Linked DNA regions of Homo sapiens: regions 1, 2, 4 and 5 are each linked to region 3. Evidence: promoter capture Hi-C in 16 types of primary human blood cells and fetal thymus (Javierre and others, 2016). All regions are on one chromosome and are shown on one strand. Each heading gives the region's core, a stretch centred on a gene start or on the middle of the fragment in contact. The rest is flanking DNA. Distances are from core to core; before and after follow the strand shown.

What was found. The method cuts DNA at HindIII sites, captures the fragments that hold promoters and counts their contacts. A CHiCAGO score of 5 or more calls a contact.
Region 1: the fragment with the promoter of SMYD5 here is called in contact with the fragment with the promoter of MCEE in region 3 in 1 of 17 cell types (total B cells); the score reaches 5.2 in total B cells.
Region 2: the fragment with the promoter of ALMS1 here is called in contact with the fragment with the promoter of MCEE in region 3 in 6 of 17 cell types (fetal thymus, total CD8 T cells, total B cells and 3 more); the score reaches 8.5 in fetal thymus.
Region 4: a fragment that was not itself captured here is called in contact with the fragment with the promoter of MCEE in region 3 in 1 of 17 cell types (naive CD8 T cells); the score reaches 6.0 in naive CD8 T cells.
Region 5: a contact is called between a fragment that was not itself captured here and the fragment with the promoter of MCEE in region 3, in 1 of 17 cell types (total CD8 T cells). The highest score is 6.3, in total CD8 T cells.

What each region holds. Positions count from the first base shown.
Region 1 is chr2:73,212,834-73,215,533 of GRCh38, forward strand. It overlaps SMYD5 (SMYD family member 5), which reads left to right and starts at 1,412. Exons shown (of 13, transcript NM_006062.3): 1 at 1,412-1,529. The coding sequence starts at 1,434. RefSeq lists enhancers at 1,268-1,562, 1,350-1,589. The HindIII fragment of the contact is 7,894 bases long and covers 37-2,700 here.
Region 2 is chr2:73,384,412-73,387,111 of GRCh38, forward strand. ALMS1 (ALMS1 centrosome and basal body associated protein) reads left to right here and starts at 1,425. Exons shown (of 23, transcript NM_001378454.1): 1 at 1,425-1,781. The coding sequence starts at 1,458. It overlaps LOC105374804 (a long non-coding RNA gene), which reads right to left and starts at 1,270. Exons shown (of 4, transcript XR_007087053.1): 1 at 1,042-1,270. RefSeq lists enhancers at 1,184-1,933, 1,974-2,213 and silencers at 1,184-1,583, 1,744-1,913. The HindIII fragment of the contact is 2,912 bases long and covers 1-2,700 here.
Region 3 is chr2:71,128,940-71,131,724 of GRCh38, forward strand. MCEE (methylmalonyl-CoA epimerase) reads right to left here and starts at 1,290. Exons shown (of 3, transcript NM_032601.4): 1 at 1,241-1,290. The coding sequence starts at 1,280. MPHOSPH10 (M-phase phosphoprotein 10) reads left to right here and starts at 1,695. Exons shown (of 11, transcript NM_005791.3): 1 at 1,695-1,815. The coding sequence starts at 1,727. RefSeq lists enhancers at 513-1,371, 1,693-1,742, 1,843-1,892. The HindIII fragment of the contact is 1,939 bases long and covers 120-2,058 here.
Region 4 is chr2:73,289,164-73,291,868 of GRCh38, forward strand. EGR4 (early growth response 4) reads right to left here. Exons shown (of 2, transcript NM_001965.4): 2 at 1,766-2,705. The coding sequence ends at 2,294. Among named protein-coding and RNA genes, the nearest start is that of EGR4, 3.0 kb to the right of the region's middle. RefSeq lists an enhancer at 1,976-2,671. The HindIII fragment of the contact is 968 bases long and covers 800-1,767 here.
Region 5 is chr2:73,237,274-73,239,973 of GRCh38, forward strand. It overlaps CCT7 (chaperonin containing TCP1 subunit 7), which reads left to right. Exons shown (of 12, transcript NM_006429.4): 2 at 2,370-2,523. Among named protein-coding and RNA genes, the nearest start is that of CCT7, 4.3 kb to the left of the region's middle. The HindIII fragment of the contact is 760 bases long and covers 966-1,725 here.

The DNA.
Region 1 (2,700 bases), core at 162-2,661, 2.1 Mb after region 3:
GTCCGTGGACTATTCGCTCCTTGACACCAGGTTGCAAGCTTGAGGAGAGGCAGGGTCAGTTTCAAGAACCTTTCTCTGTCCCTGCCAACTATCTATCTATCTATAATTATTTGATAGATAATTGTGGCTTGATCACGGCTCATTGCAGTCTAGACCTCCCCAGGTTCAGGTGATCCTCCCACGCATCACCACGCCCGGCAAATTTTTCTATTTTTTGGAGAGACAAGGTCTCACTACGTTGCCCAGTCTGTTCTTGAGCCCGGGAGCTGGAGGCTGCCGTGAGCCGAGATCGCCCCATGCCAGTATGGGCGACAAAGCGAGACCCTGTCTCAAACAAAACTCACAAAATCAGGGGACAAGGAAACAAAACAAGGCTTGATAGTCAGGCCTAGCTGTGGGGACAAATGCCATAGGTCTGTGGTTTGCAGCTTCTTGGGGTCCTGAGAGAACAGGCCCCTCCCCCTTTTCACGACAGTGTGTGCATATGCACACTCACTTCTGTATCCAGTTTCAGAGGTTCTCAGATCTGAGGTCCCCTATGGACTCCTCCGCTACCCCCGGTTGCAAGGTCCCTAAGCCATTGAAGAATCTGACAGAGGCACAAGTCCACCCTGACCTTTGGCAGGACTGTTCTGCTGCCAGAGGGATTACCGAGAAAGGAAATCTTGTCCTGGACTCTTCAAGTGGGGTGAGTGAGCTCCGGGGTATAAGCTAGTCCTTCCCTTCAGGCTGAGAGCTAGACAGGATAGGAGTAAGTTGGCCTTCTGCTGTCCCACTCTAGGGCTGGGTCCAAAGAGCGCTTTACTCAGTGAAGACAGGCCACTGTGTGGACAGAGACAACATACATAGAAACATGCATCGGAGGCCGGGCGAGGTGGCTCACGCCTGTAATCCCAACACTTTAGGAGGTCGAGGCGGGCGGATCACTTGAGGTCAGGAGTTCGAGACCAGCCTGGCCAACATGGTGAAACCCCTAAAAATACAAAAATTAGCTGGGCTTAGTGGCGCACGCCTGTACGCCCAGCTACTCGGGAGGCTGAGGCAGGAGAATGAATCACTTGAACCTGGGAGGCAGAGGTTGCACTGAGCCGAGATCGCGCCACTGCACACCAGCCTGGGCGACAGAGTGAGACTATCTCAAAAAAAAAAAACCACAACAAAACATGCAACGGACTCAAAGATACACACATCAAAACTGTACGCGCACACAGACTCTGATACAGAGGTACAGACACAAAAAGGCACCGATGTAAAAGCACAAAGGCAGGCCCAGTTACACTCCCGTCAACAAACCACGGAACCTAAATTCAGACTTGGTGGAGCCCAAAACCTCGCAGCCTCAGGGGCACTCTCGCCGGGGGCGGGACCAGAAGGGGGTGTGGCCTCTCAGGTCGAGGCGGGGTTAAGGGTCATAAGGCGGAGGCGCGCCCAAGATGGCGGCCTCCATGTGCGACGTGTTCTCCTTCTGCGTGGGCGTGGCGGGCCGCGCGCGGGTCTCCGTGGAAGTCCGTTTCGTGAGCAGCGCCAAGGTGAGGTCGGGGCGGGTCCTGCCGGGAGCCTCTCCCCAGTCCGGCCATGGAGACAGCCCGGCCGGACTCCATGCCCGGAGCCCAGAGGCTTCTGTGCCGCTCGGACGCTACGGCCCTGCCCCTGCTCGCGGCCCGGGGGCTCCCAGTCTGTCCCTGCGCGCAGGCTCGTGGCGCGGTCACGCGATAGACCCGGGCCTCCGGAGTCTCCGTGCGCATTTCCTCCCAGCGGAATTCGGCCAGCCCGCGGGAGGCCCTTCTGTGGCTGCTCGGGGCGGGGCTAGGGGGCTTTGCTGCTGTATCCCTGGAACGGTGGGCGGGGATGTGCCGGGCAGAGAGAACTGAGGTGTAAAAGAGGGAGTCCTCACGAACTTCATGTGTGAGATTTGGGTGAGGGGATGAGGAGAGAGGCCAAGATCCTTCACGAGGGTCCTTGGAGTGCTGAGGAATTTGGACCAGAGTCCAAAGGCCGTGGGGGCATTGGGAGAGTTTTTAGCAGGAAGGTGACGTGATTTTGTCGTTTTTATTGTGTTCCAAAAGTTCATTGTAGAAAAAAATACAAAATGCATGTAAGGAAAGAAAATACAAAAATCACCCATACTTCTATACTTGTGCAAAGATGAGTACGTTAAAATTACATTTTTAGAAACTGCTTTTTGATGCAGCAGTGAATCTTTCAATATCAAGCCTATTTCTACATATTAAGTTTTAAGAGCTGAGTAGTAGCTTCTTCCGTGAGAGGGTCACAGTTCACTCAACCAACCCCTTATTAATGGACCCTTTATTGTTGTATGGTATTTTTCATCCCCAGAGTCAAAAGTCTTAGAGCTCATTTTCTGTGCAAACATCCTCTTGTTTTGTCCAGCAGTATTTTTTTCCTAGTTATCTTTGCCTATTGATATGTGTAAAATTATATTTGTTCTCATTTACGTTTCTTTGGTTACTAGTGAGGTTGAATAATTTATCCTGTGTAGTGGCTGTGTGTATGGTTGGTTCTTGCCCAAGACGTAAGACCTCTAGTTGTCTGTTGTCTGCTCTCAGCGTCATCATATTGATCTAGTTTTCCAGCTCAACCTTCCGTGCCCCCTTTCTGCTCTAGAGGTATCTGGAGCAGTTTGCTCCTTCCCTGGTAAATCAGCTTCCCTACATCCCTGGTCTCCTTACCTGTTCCTAT
Region 2 (2,700 bases), core at 175-2,674, 2.3 Mb after region 3:
GAGATTTCACATTCAGGAATACAAAATTAATAAATTCTTTTCTACTATTACAGTAATAGGTCTCCGGCAAGGAGAACCCCTAAACCCCTTAAGAATAAATAACCCTAATGTACTCATAGTCCATTTAGAGGTGTTCAACAGAACTCCAAGACTGGGCTCCAGTTCATGTTCTACCCTTAAAGTTTTGCCAGGATTGGGTCATTGACAGGTAGGCAGGACATACATCCTTGGCAATAACCCTAAAATTGCCCCACCAACATTGGTTCAGCATCATTATCAATGTATCTCTACTATTGTGGGTAATACCATGAAGACTTTTTGCTGGACTCCACTTTAATTATGGCTATTTCCTTTGGTAACAGTGAAGCATCTCAAGATTATAATTATTATTTAAAATTTTAATTTAAAAATTTTCCCCATAGGTTATTGGGGGTACAGGTGGTGTCTGGTTACATGGCATCTTAAGATACTTTAATTTGCCATTCATTTCGTAGAGGTTCCTGAAGCGGTCAGGAAATCTTTGTTTTTAAAGCACTCCAAAGTCATTGACGAACCACCAAAACATATGTACTATCAGTATAAATATTTGCTCTGTTATCCTTTAACAGCTGGTTGGTCTAGGCCAGGGCAATTCCTACACTAACAGAGGACCTGGGATGGCATACTGAGTCAGCCACTTACTAGGTAAGAAACTTTGGGCAAATTAATTTTTTTAGCCTCAGATTCTTCATACATGAAATAGTAATACTTGTCTCACAGAACCGTGAGCATCTAATGAGTTATTGTACAATAACCAACCTATCACTAAGTCCTTCACATTGATTATTTCCTTTAATTATCACACCCATCCTATGCGATGGCCTATTATCATCGTTTTATAAACACAAAGTCACACCACTTTAAGTGGTGATGCCAGGATTCAAACTCCGATCTTTCTGATGCCAGTGCCCAGTTCTTAATCCCTCTAACAACCCGTGACACTTTTCCACGGTTAGGTTCAAGCGCCCACCATACAGCTTGACACTTTAGGAGATACTCAACCTTTAAAACTTTATAATTTGCATGTGTGATTATAACGGGTACGTCCTAGAGTTTGATCTCTTCTCTGTGCAGGGGCGAAACTCGACCCCAGCCGAGAACTACACTGTCCTTGCGCGGGGCCCTCTGCGCCCCGGAAGGCGCCCAGTCCCGGTTTATTGTGAGCTTACAGTACAGTTCGCAAGGTCCCGGCCGGTGACGGCGGCGAGGCGGCAACGTCGCCTGTAGCAAACCTCCGCCCTAAGGCGTTCCCGCCGGGCCTCGCGCGGCGTCCCTAGCAACGCGCGCGCGGTCTTCCGGCCCCGCCCAGGCGGGCGGCACTGCGCCTAAGCTGGGCCACAACCGCCAGTCAGGGCTCTCCCCTTCCCCTCCCTCCCCCCCTCCTCCTCCTCCTCTGCCGCCCAGAGCGAGACACCAACATGGAGCCCGAGGATCTGCCATGGCCGGGCGAGCTGGAGGAGGAGGAGGAGGAGGAGGAGGAGGAGGAGGAGGAAGAGGAGGAGGCTGCAGCGGCGGCGGCGGCGAACGTGGACGACGTAGTGGTCGTGGAGGAGGTGGAGGAAGAGGCGGGGCGGGAGTTGGACTCCGACTCTCACTACGGGCCCCAGCATCTGGAAAGTATAGACGACGAGGAGGACGAGGAGGCCAAGGCCTGGCTGCAGGCGCACCCCGGCAGGATTTTGCCTCCGCTGTCGCCCCCGCAGCACCGCTACTCGGAGGGCGAGCGGACCTCCCTGGAGAAGGTGAGGCGGGCCGGGGAGGGGTGTGGAGCCGCGGCGAGTTGGGGGTGGAGGCTGGGCCCCGAGCGCTCCGCCCGCCCGCAGGTCACGCCGCCTGACGGAGAAAACGCGCGCAGCTGAGGCTAGTAGGCGGCCCAGACTCCAGCCCAGGTGCCGGCCGGCTGCTCCGCGTCTCCCAGGCTTTGTGGCAAAGACTTCTCGTTTCCTCCCCCTCGGTGGGTCCTGGGCCTTTTGAACTCCCGTAGACGTTCAGGGGAGCCTGCATTCCCCGTGAGAAACGCTGAGAGAGGACCACGGGTGTGTCGAGCCTTGAAGGAGGGAAAAGGCGGTGTAGGACCGGAGCGAGTGGTTGCCTGGGGAGCATCTTGTTGGGGAGACAGTGAACAGATGAGCTTGACTGAATTGCAGGACTCCCCTGAGGGAGTAATGTGGATAATGTACACCGCGCGATCACTTAGTCTGGAGAGGCTCCCCGCGGGTTTTCCTCCCCTGGACCATCATTTGTAGCAATAAAGGGGTTCCCCAGCCGATAGGAGGGGCTTGGAATGCAGGAGGCTTGTGATGCGGCTCCAAACAGTCTGCAAAACTACAAAGCACAGATAATACACAATGGAGAAAGCCGATTTCATGGTAGACCCCCGAAGATCATTTTGAAAATAACTCTCCATTTAATTTGCTGCCCTTACCCCCCTTTTTTTAACTTACTGCTTTTCGAGGAGCAAGACCTGCCCTGCTCAGTACAGTAGCCACTGGCCACGTGTGGCTTTTTACATCTTAAAGAGAAAACTATTATAGTTTTGAGTAAGAGTTAAAAATAAATTAAATGAAAAATTCCATGCGTCTGTTCTTACCGGTTTTCAAGTGCTCAGCAGCCACACTAGGCTAGTGGCTACCATGTTGGACAGAGCAGATAATGGAACAG
Region 3 (2,785 bases), core at 40-2,539:
ACGCCACTGCACTCCAGCCTGGGCGACAGAGTGAGACTCTGTCTCAAAAAAAAAAAAAAAGGTAAATTTTACTTTATGTATATTCAACCACACACACACACACACAAGTGGAGACATTAAGCTTCAAGTATCTTAATAGGACAAATCAAAGGCAATCTTTGGAATACACTGTCTTCATTTTTCCTTTATGCCAAGATGTGTATGTAAGTACAAAACAAACATGCACCTTTATCTGTATTGAGTTCTTGCAGTATGTATATGACCTGTTGGAAGTCATACTTTTTCCCAAACTGTCAATCATTAAAGTGTGCAGTTCTAAAAATAGACATAAAAATGCCTTTTCCCAAATATTCATTTATTTATAGTTTTACGTTCCTATCTTGTGTATCACCTAAGAGGAAGGTATGCCTTACGGTTAAGAATGTGGGCTCTGGTGCTAGAAGGATTTATCACGAATGTCCCGGAGTAACTCTGGGGCATTACCACTTGGCACCTTCTTCCTAATAGGGAATCTCAGATTAAGGGAAATACTTGCCCTCTCATAAAAGGAGGAAGAGAAAAAAAAAAAGGATAAAAAGAGGAGAAAGTGAGTCAGAAAACGTGACAATTATTACAGTTATTTCTGTCATAACTGATTCTATGTACATATTTTAAAAAAAATGAAGGGGGAGAGAACTCAAGAAAGTTTCCAAATCCACATGCTTTTATCTGTGTACGCGATAAATATATTAGTGCACGTGGAAAAACCACTCCTTTTGTATTCTTTACACCACTGACCTTTGAGTGTTCCCAACAGAAAGCTGGTCACGCTTGGAGTTCGGCCGACTAGTAGTTGTTGTTTTTACGGAACGTGCTCTCCTTTCTGGTTTCTCCCCAGTCTCTTTATTGGTGCGCGGTAAAATAACTTACCGATCCGCTTCTATTTACTTCTGTCCCTGCCCTGCCTGACCTGCCGGGCAAGTTCCCTCGACTCTCCCGCCCACATACTGGAAGGTGCAGAGCCCAAGGCGCACAGCTCTCGGATGGAAATGGGACTCATGCACAAGGCAATCCCCGCTACTAAGCGGTGGCGCTTCTGGAAGGCACCCTCTGCCTAAGTGACAGCAGCTGCTGTGGAACGCGCCCCCGGGGGAGGACATTAGATCAAGGTGCTTTGGCCACGCCGAGGCCTCCTCCGCCCCCGACCGCCGTTCCCACGCTCCCTGTCCCATGGCGAAGGTCGCCGGTGCCCGGTATTCACCTACGGCATTCGCGGCTGCAGCCTTCAGCACCCGCGCCATTTTGGAAAGCAACCCGCCACGTCAAGACTAGCCACGGAGGTTGAGAGACGCGCGGCAGAGGGCGGGGCGGGAGGCAGAGGGGGCGGGGACAGAAAGGTCAGGGGCGTGGCGAAGGTCGCTGCTTTCCTGCTACAACGGGCCTACTTTAGCTAAAACAGAAACGTAAGGCCAGGACGGGTCACCCTTTGTGGGCCCCTGAAAAATACAAAACGAAGTTTGGAGAGAGTTGAAAGGCGTTTGGGCTGACCATGGAGATTTTTGTTTCCCACCCTCCTGCGAAAGCGCTCGCGCTGCCATTGGCTCTGGCTGAGGGCGAGTCCGGAACCTGTGCGCCGCGGAACTTTCGGCTCTGAAATCCAAGTTGCGCTGGGCGCATCTTTGCCGCGCGGTTTCCGGGCGGCTCCCTTCCCTTGCATGCTGCATTGTGTCGGGAGTTGCTGACAGCCATGGCGCCGCAGGTCTGGCGTCGACGGACCCTGGAGCGGTGTCTGACGGAAGTCGGCAAAGCCACGGGTCGGCCCGAGTGCTTCCTCACGTAAGTGCGCAGATCCCGGGCTCGGGGTGCGACCGGGGTCTCACGTGGACGCGGGTTGCAGGCCTCCGGCAAATTGTGGAGCTGGGGGAAGGTAAGGGGAAACGTAAAATCGCTTTTCCCCAAATTTCAGAGTTTATGCTTTCCTAGGCTATCAAAATTTTAAAAACTGTTAAAATTTGTATAGATGGATCTCTCAGTTGAGTGTTACTGAAATCACTCTAACCTCAATTGTTAACACCTAGAAGCTTCCCTTGGGCTTCTTACGCCCCCATCCCTCTACACACAGACTGTTGGTTTCTCCTTCCTCCTATGTGCTCTCAAAGCACTTAGCGCTTAGCATACTTTATTGAAAGTACGAACTTGTCACTTGTCTGTCCACCCCCCATGACTAAGCTTCTTCAGAAATAGAACTTCCATGTCTCTTCCCAACACAAGCGTTTTATATGTATTTTGTTGAAGAATTTAAAATGTGATCTATGAAATTATTACTCATTTATGTTTCAAACCCCAACCTTTCCCTGAGTTCCCAGCTCACAGCAACTACAGACTGAGCTTAGTTTGAATTCCGTAGCACACAACTGGGATATCCACACTGTACAACTTTTAACGATTTTTAAAATTTTGGTACTGTCAAGCATCTCAAATTCACTGCGTCCAAAATAGAGCTGTTGTGTCTGTTTAATAGAATTGTTGTTTCTACCCACCTATACTCTGCCATCCCCTGAAGTCCTTTTCCCATGCTACACCTGTCAAGCGCGTCTGTGTGAAGAGACCACTAAAACAGGCTTTGTGTGAGCCACAAGGCTGTTTATTCACTTGGGTGCAAGTGGGCTGAGTCCGAAAAGAGAGTCAACTAATGGTGATGGGGAAGGGGTTGCTTTATAGGAGTTGGGTAGGTAATGGAAAATTACAGTAAAAGGTGGTTATCTATTAGCAGAGGAGGACGGGGTCACAAGGTACATGGTGGGGA
Region 4 (2,705 bases), core at 34-2,533, 2.2 Mb after region 3:
GTTAGGCCTAGGTGGGTGTGAGGATAAGAATAATAGAGCTGATGGCACTTGCTGGAATGCTGCTGGAGAGGGCAAGATAGGGGTGATCAGAGGCCAGCCACCCACTGTCTGCGTTTCCTCCTTTGTTCAGCTTGTGTGTTTTGGGACCAGTTGCTTGAAATATGGGCCATTATGCTTTTCTTGCCCTACTCTTCATGAAAAGTGAAGTCAGGTGGCCCATGCCTAATAAGTGAAAGGTGTGGTGACTTAAATAGTAAGACAATGAGGGTCATGATTATCTTGTGTCTCCATGAATCTACCACTTATCACAGTGCCTGACAGTCCACAATTTGAGCCTCTTCATTGGGTTAAACATTGCCCTCTGCAGGCTACTGTTCTAAAATGTTAATTCTCCTAGAAGAGGTAATATTAAATCCTTTACCACAAATTAGTTTCTTAGATACAAGATACTTGGCCACATGAAAGCACTTAAAACCTAGGGAGAGAAAAGGATGGAATTCTCTGAGTTGATCATTTTGTCTCTGGTCAGCTGGACTGTGGGGTGGAGGGTGAGCATATCTTAGAGTGAAGGAGTGAAGAAAGCAGCAAGAGTATCAGAAGCTGGTTTGATCTGGCATCATAGGGCTGTAAGGTCTCTTAATTCAAGAACAGCTCAGCTCAGAAGAGAAAACAATGAAGTCCTCAGACACAGGCCTTCTTTCTTCCTTATCAGAGAGGGGTCATTGGAGCAGAGAGATGGAGAGCACAGCGGCCTTTTTATGCTCCAAGGTCTGCCCAAGGTGGCCAGAAAGAGTGGAAAAGCTTTGGGTGGGGAGTTCAAAGAGTAAAAAGGGGCCACCTTCACCATTACAAGGTCATGCTTTCCTCATCACCCTCCTAGCCTTCCTCTGATCCCAAAGCCATGAAGAGTTCACTTGGAAGGACAGCTGGAGAAAAGTGGCTGTGGCAGGCGCATGGCTGAATGGTAAGTAGGCTGATGCCACCTGGAGAAGATCCTTTTTGTGGGAAGAGCAACTAAGGTGACCATCAGTCTCTGGCAAGTGCCTGCTCCCAGCTATATTCAGGTGTGCTCTAGCTAAATGCTGAGACCCTTTGGGTCCTGACATCATGTGACTCTTGAACAGATGCATAGATACTGTCTGGAGCCTCTGTGACACTGAACACTCTGGGCTTTCACAAACAGCACCAAAATACTGCAGCCTTTTGCTGTTGTCGCTACTGCCTGGAGCTCCCTCTAGCTGCCAAACCTGTTTCTCACCTTCTGGTAGGAAGCCTTTCCAATCAGTGCTATTAAGTTTAGGTGTCTCCATTCTGGGGTTGGAAAATGAGGGTTGGCTTTGAAGTTGGACAGATTTGTTTGACCTGTCTGTTCCTAGCCTGGGTTAACTACATTGTTCCAGCAAGCTATCTACATTGCTTCCACATCTTTGAAATGAGGTATATGCCTGCTTTATTTGGGAATGCGAGGATTAAGGAGAATAATATATACATAATGTTGAACACCTACGCCTTTTAACCACTTTGAAGTTCCAGAAACACCTCCAGCCCTTAGGTGAGCTGTGATTAAATTCGTTCATTAACCCAACACACATTTACTGAATGCCTACTCTGTGCCGCAGTTCCTGGCAGGTGTGCCTGACAGTGGGTGTGTAATATGTTCAGGGTCTGTATCCCATGAGCGTGGGGATCTCCTTTATCTTCTGGCACATATGGTCCTGGGGGAGAAGCTAAGGGGAAGGGTCAGGAGCTTACATGGCAGATTCAGTAAGCTTTTAGCACAATAATTTTAATTGCAAAAATAAACAGTTTTGTCAACTGCTTGAGAGTAGCGTCTGCTTTACAAAAATTAACAACAACAAAAGGAAAAAAAACCCAAAGCAAAACGTTACATCCAATGGCTGCTGGATAAGACACTGCTGTACAAAGTCCCGCGCGAGACCGCCTTGGCGCTGCCCCAGCCTGTCTCTGGGGGTTATAGAGGAAGGCGTGGGGCGTGTGCCAGTTACAAAAGACTGTCTTGAATCCCAGGGTAGTGCCTATTCACTGGGTGGTCTCAGAAGACTTCCCCCAAAGCGCGGCTGACAAGGGTGACAGCGCCTGGACCGCGGGAACTGTCCGCGGAGCTGGTGCTGAATAGGGCGTGTGCGGCGGGCGCTTCAAGGAAACTGGAAGCGGGACCGGAGGCCGGCCCTCGGGCGTGCGAGGAGGAGTTGGAAGAAGAGCGGGGAGGGGAACGGCCCGGAACTCGTGCGCGCCGAACGGCGGCGCCCCAACCCATAAACCCATCTCTTGCTCAGAGAGAAGCGAAGGAGAGGCCCAGCGAGTAAAAGCCGAGGCCCTTGAGCCGCTCCTCGGCGCGCGCCTTCTGCTTGAGGTGCACCTTGCTGTGCCGTTTCTTCTCATCGCTGCGCGCGAAGCGGCGGCCGCACACGTCGCAAGCAAAAGGCTTCTCGCCGGTGTGGGTGCGCACGTGCGTGGTGAGGTGGTCGCTGCGGCTGAAGTTGCGGAGGCAGATGCGGCACTGGAAGGGTTTGTGGCCCGTGTGGATGCGCAGGTGGCGATTGAGCTCGTCGGAGCGCGCAAAGCTCCGCACACAACTCTCCACCGGGCAAGCGAAGGCCTTGGCGTGCGGCCGCGGGCAGAAGCAGCGCGTGCTGCATTTGCCGCCGCGGCGCCCCTTGCGTCGCGCCTTGGCCTGGGGGAAA
Region 5 (2,700 bases), core at 96-2,595, 2.1 Mb after region 3:
TAGAAGATGGCAGAGTGACTATTTTAGATGGGGGTACACTTTGCAGGTTGAGGTGAGAAAAAGTATACACAAGCATTGGGTAAGTTAACCTGTTGAGGTGAAAGAACCTGTTGAAGGTGATAGGAAGTGATTGAGACTCATGTTAGTTTTTGATTTAAAGTGTAAGACTCCATCCGTGGCAGGGGTGGACCAGAGAAGACTTGGGGCTGCCATAAGGAATGATTTAGCAAGACTGGGAGATGGTAGGGCCTTTCAGGACACACATCTTTCCCTTACAGAAGGTGCCAGGGACTGGGCCAGCTGAAGAGCCAGAAAGAATGCTGGGAGTATAGAGAAGCCATTTCTTGCCACCAGACCTGGGACACTCCAGCAAAAGGAAGGAATTTTCCCTTCAGTTGACGCCTGATCCCAAATGTAGGGGTTTACATGACAAGCATTCTTTTTAAAATAAAAAATAAAAGGAGTAATGTATGATTATTTGACAAGCATTTAAAAAAATTTAATGAGGGCCTGGCATGGTGCCTCATGCCTGTAATCCTAGCACTTCAGAAGGCTGAGGCAGGAGGGTTGTTAGAGGCCAGGAGTTGGAGACCAGCCTGGGCAACATTTTTTAAATACAAATTTAAAAAATTAGCCAGGTGTGGTACCTCATGCATTGCGGTCCAGCTACTCAGGAGGCTTGAGCTTATAGTAAGCTATGATCTCACCACTGCACTCCAGCATGGGTGGTGGAGCAAGACCCTGTCTCTTAGAAATATATATTAAAAAATGAATAATATATTAAATTACTCCCACTCTCTTATTCCGTAGAGTTTATTGGGTATTTTTCGTTTTCTTTTTGTAGAGACAGGGTCTTGCCATGTTCCCCAGGCTGGTCTTGAACTCCATGAGCTCAAGTGATCCTCTTTTTTCTACAGTGGTTTTTGTTTTTTATGTAAATCACAGTATGCCATTCCTCTGCTGAAAGCTTCCCAGGGCTTTCCTTTTTAGGAATGAAATCTGAACTCCTCACCATAGTGTGTCTACGAGTGTGTATGTGATCTGGTTCCTGCCTGCCTCTTCAGCTTTATTCCAGTCTTCCTCTTGCTTACTACCCTCCAGCTGCGCTGGCCAAAAGAGTTGAACTTTTTAAGGAATTGACCAGTTAATAAGGAATCAGCCTCATGAGTGGCAAGACTCTGTCTTTGGCAGGAATTCCTCACTCCTCATTGTTAGGTTGGGAAAGCTCTGTGCTTTCCTGTGCCTTCCTTGCTCAGACATCCACGTACCTCTAAGGACTAGGTGATGGCTTTCAAACTTTTTATTGCATTCCACAGTAAGAAATACATTTTTAATCATAGCCTAGTAACAAATTTAACACAATAAAAGTTTTGAAATAGTATTTATCCTTACTACATTCTGTGTCACACACAAAATTAGCCAGAAACACTTGAGAAGACTGGATCTAGTTCGTGGGCTTATCTCTGAAGGCTCAGATTTGAATGTGGAGAGAAAGTAGTCTGGTTTGCTAAGCTGAGAAATTGCTCTCTCTGCTAATAATGGTGGTCACTAGAGCAAAGATATCTGAGCGGGCCCTTTAAAACAAGCAAGTATCCCTGTTTCTCAGTTTCTAAAGCAGGTCTGCAAATGAAGCCCTTACGGGGATAGGGAATGTTCTGGAGACCAATGCAATATAGAAAGAGGAAAACTTCTTTGGGGTATCTGATTGGAAATTAGTCACACAGAAGCTTTATTCAGCCAGCATGAGAGATGGAAACATTGCTGTATGAATTAGATTTGCCATCATTTTTCAAAACAGGGCAAAGGTGCTGTTTGTTTCTCTGCCTGTTTTCCTACACTGCAGCTGAACATCACTGTTACATAAAGCTGACTGCCTAGGCATCTCTAGGACAACACCTCAAGCTCTTGGCATCTTGCATTTTGCATCAGTGTCCCATCTGCTTCTCTAAGATTGAGCTGTAACACAGACAAGTGGATGTTTTGCTGCGGAATGAACACTTAGCAGGGTCTGCCTCTTCCTCCTGTGTTGTGACCCAATTCCTCAGCACAGGGAGTAAGGTCAGAAGTTGAAAAGGCCATGGTCATTCAGCTGGGTACTGGAGAACTCATGATTTTTTCTTTTAGATTAGGTCAGTGCTTCTCAAACCATTTTCCTGTCTAGCATACCTGCAGGGTAGGCTAAATTTGATAGTGTCTCTGGAGGTAGAGGCTGGTTGGGGAATGGATGTGGTAGACAGTTGGGGGAATGTGGTTTAAGAAGACCTCTAGATAATTCTGTTAAGGGAGAGATGGGAGCATTTTCCCCTTTCCCCTGCCAGTCTCATTATAATAGATGATTATTAAAAGCAGTTAATTTCTTTCTTTTCTAGCCCACACCAGTTATCCTATTGAAAGAGGGGACTGATAGCTCCCAAGGCATCCCCCAGCTTGTGAGTAACATCAGTGCCTGCCAGGTGATTGCTGAGGCTGTAAGAACTACCCTGGGTCCCCGTGGCATGGACAAGCTTATTGTAGATGGCAGAGGTAAGTCTACAGAGTTCCTCAGGCCTGTGTGCAGGAAAGGAGGCTCCTGAGGGGGTGTTTGGGACTAGCATAGGTTGGTATCAGAAATCCCACTGCTTTTAAGATCGTTGAAAGATGACTCACTCTGAAGCAGTTCCAATTCTTATATTGTCCTGACTGCTGAGCCCGTGTGGGACT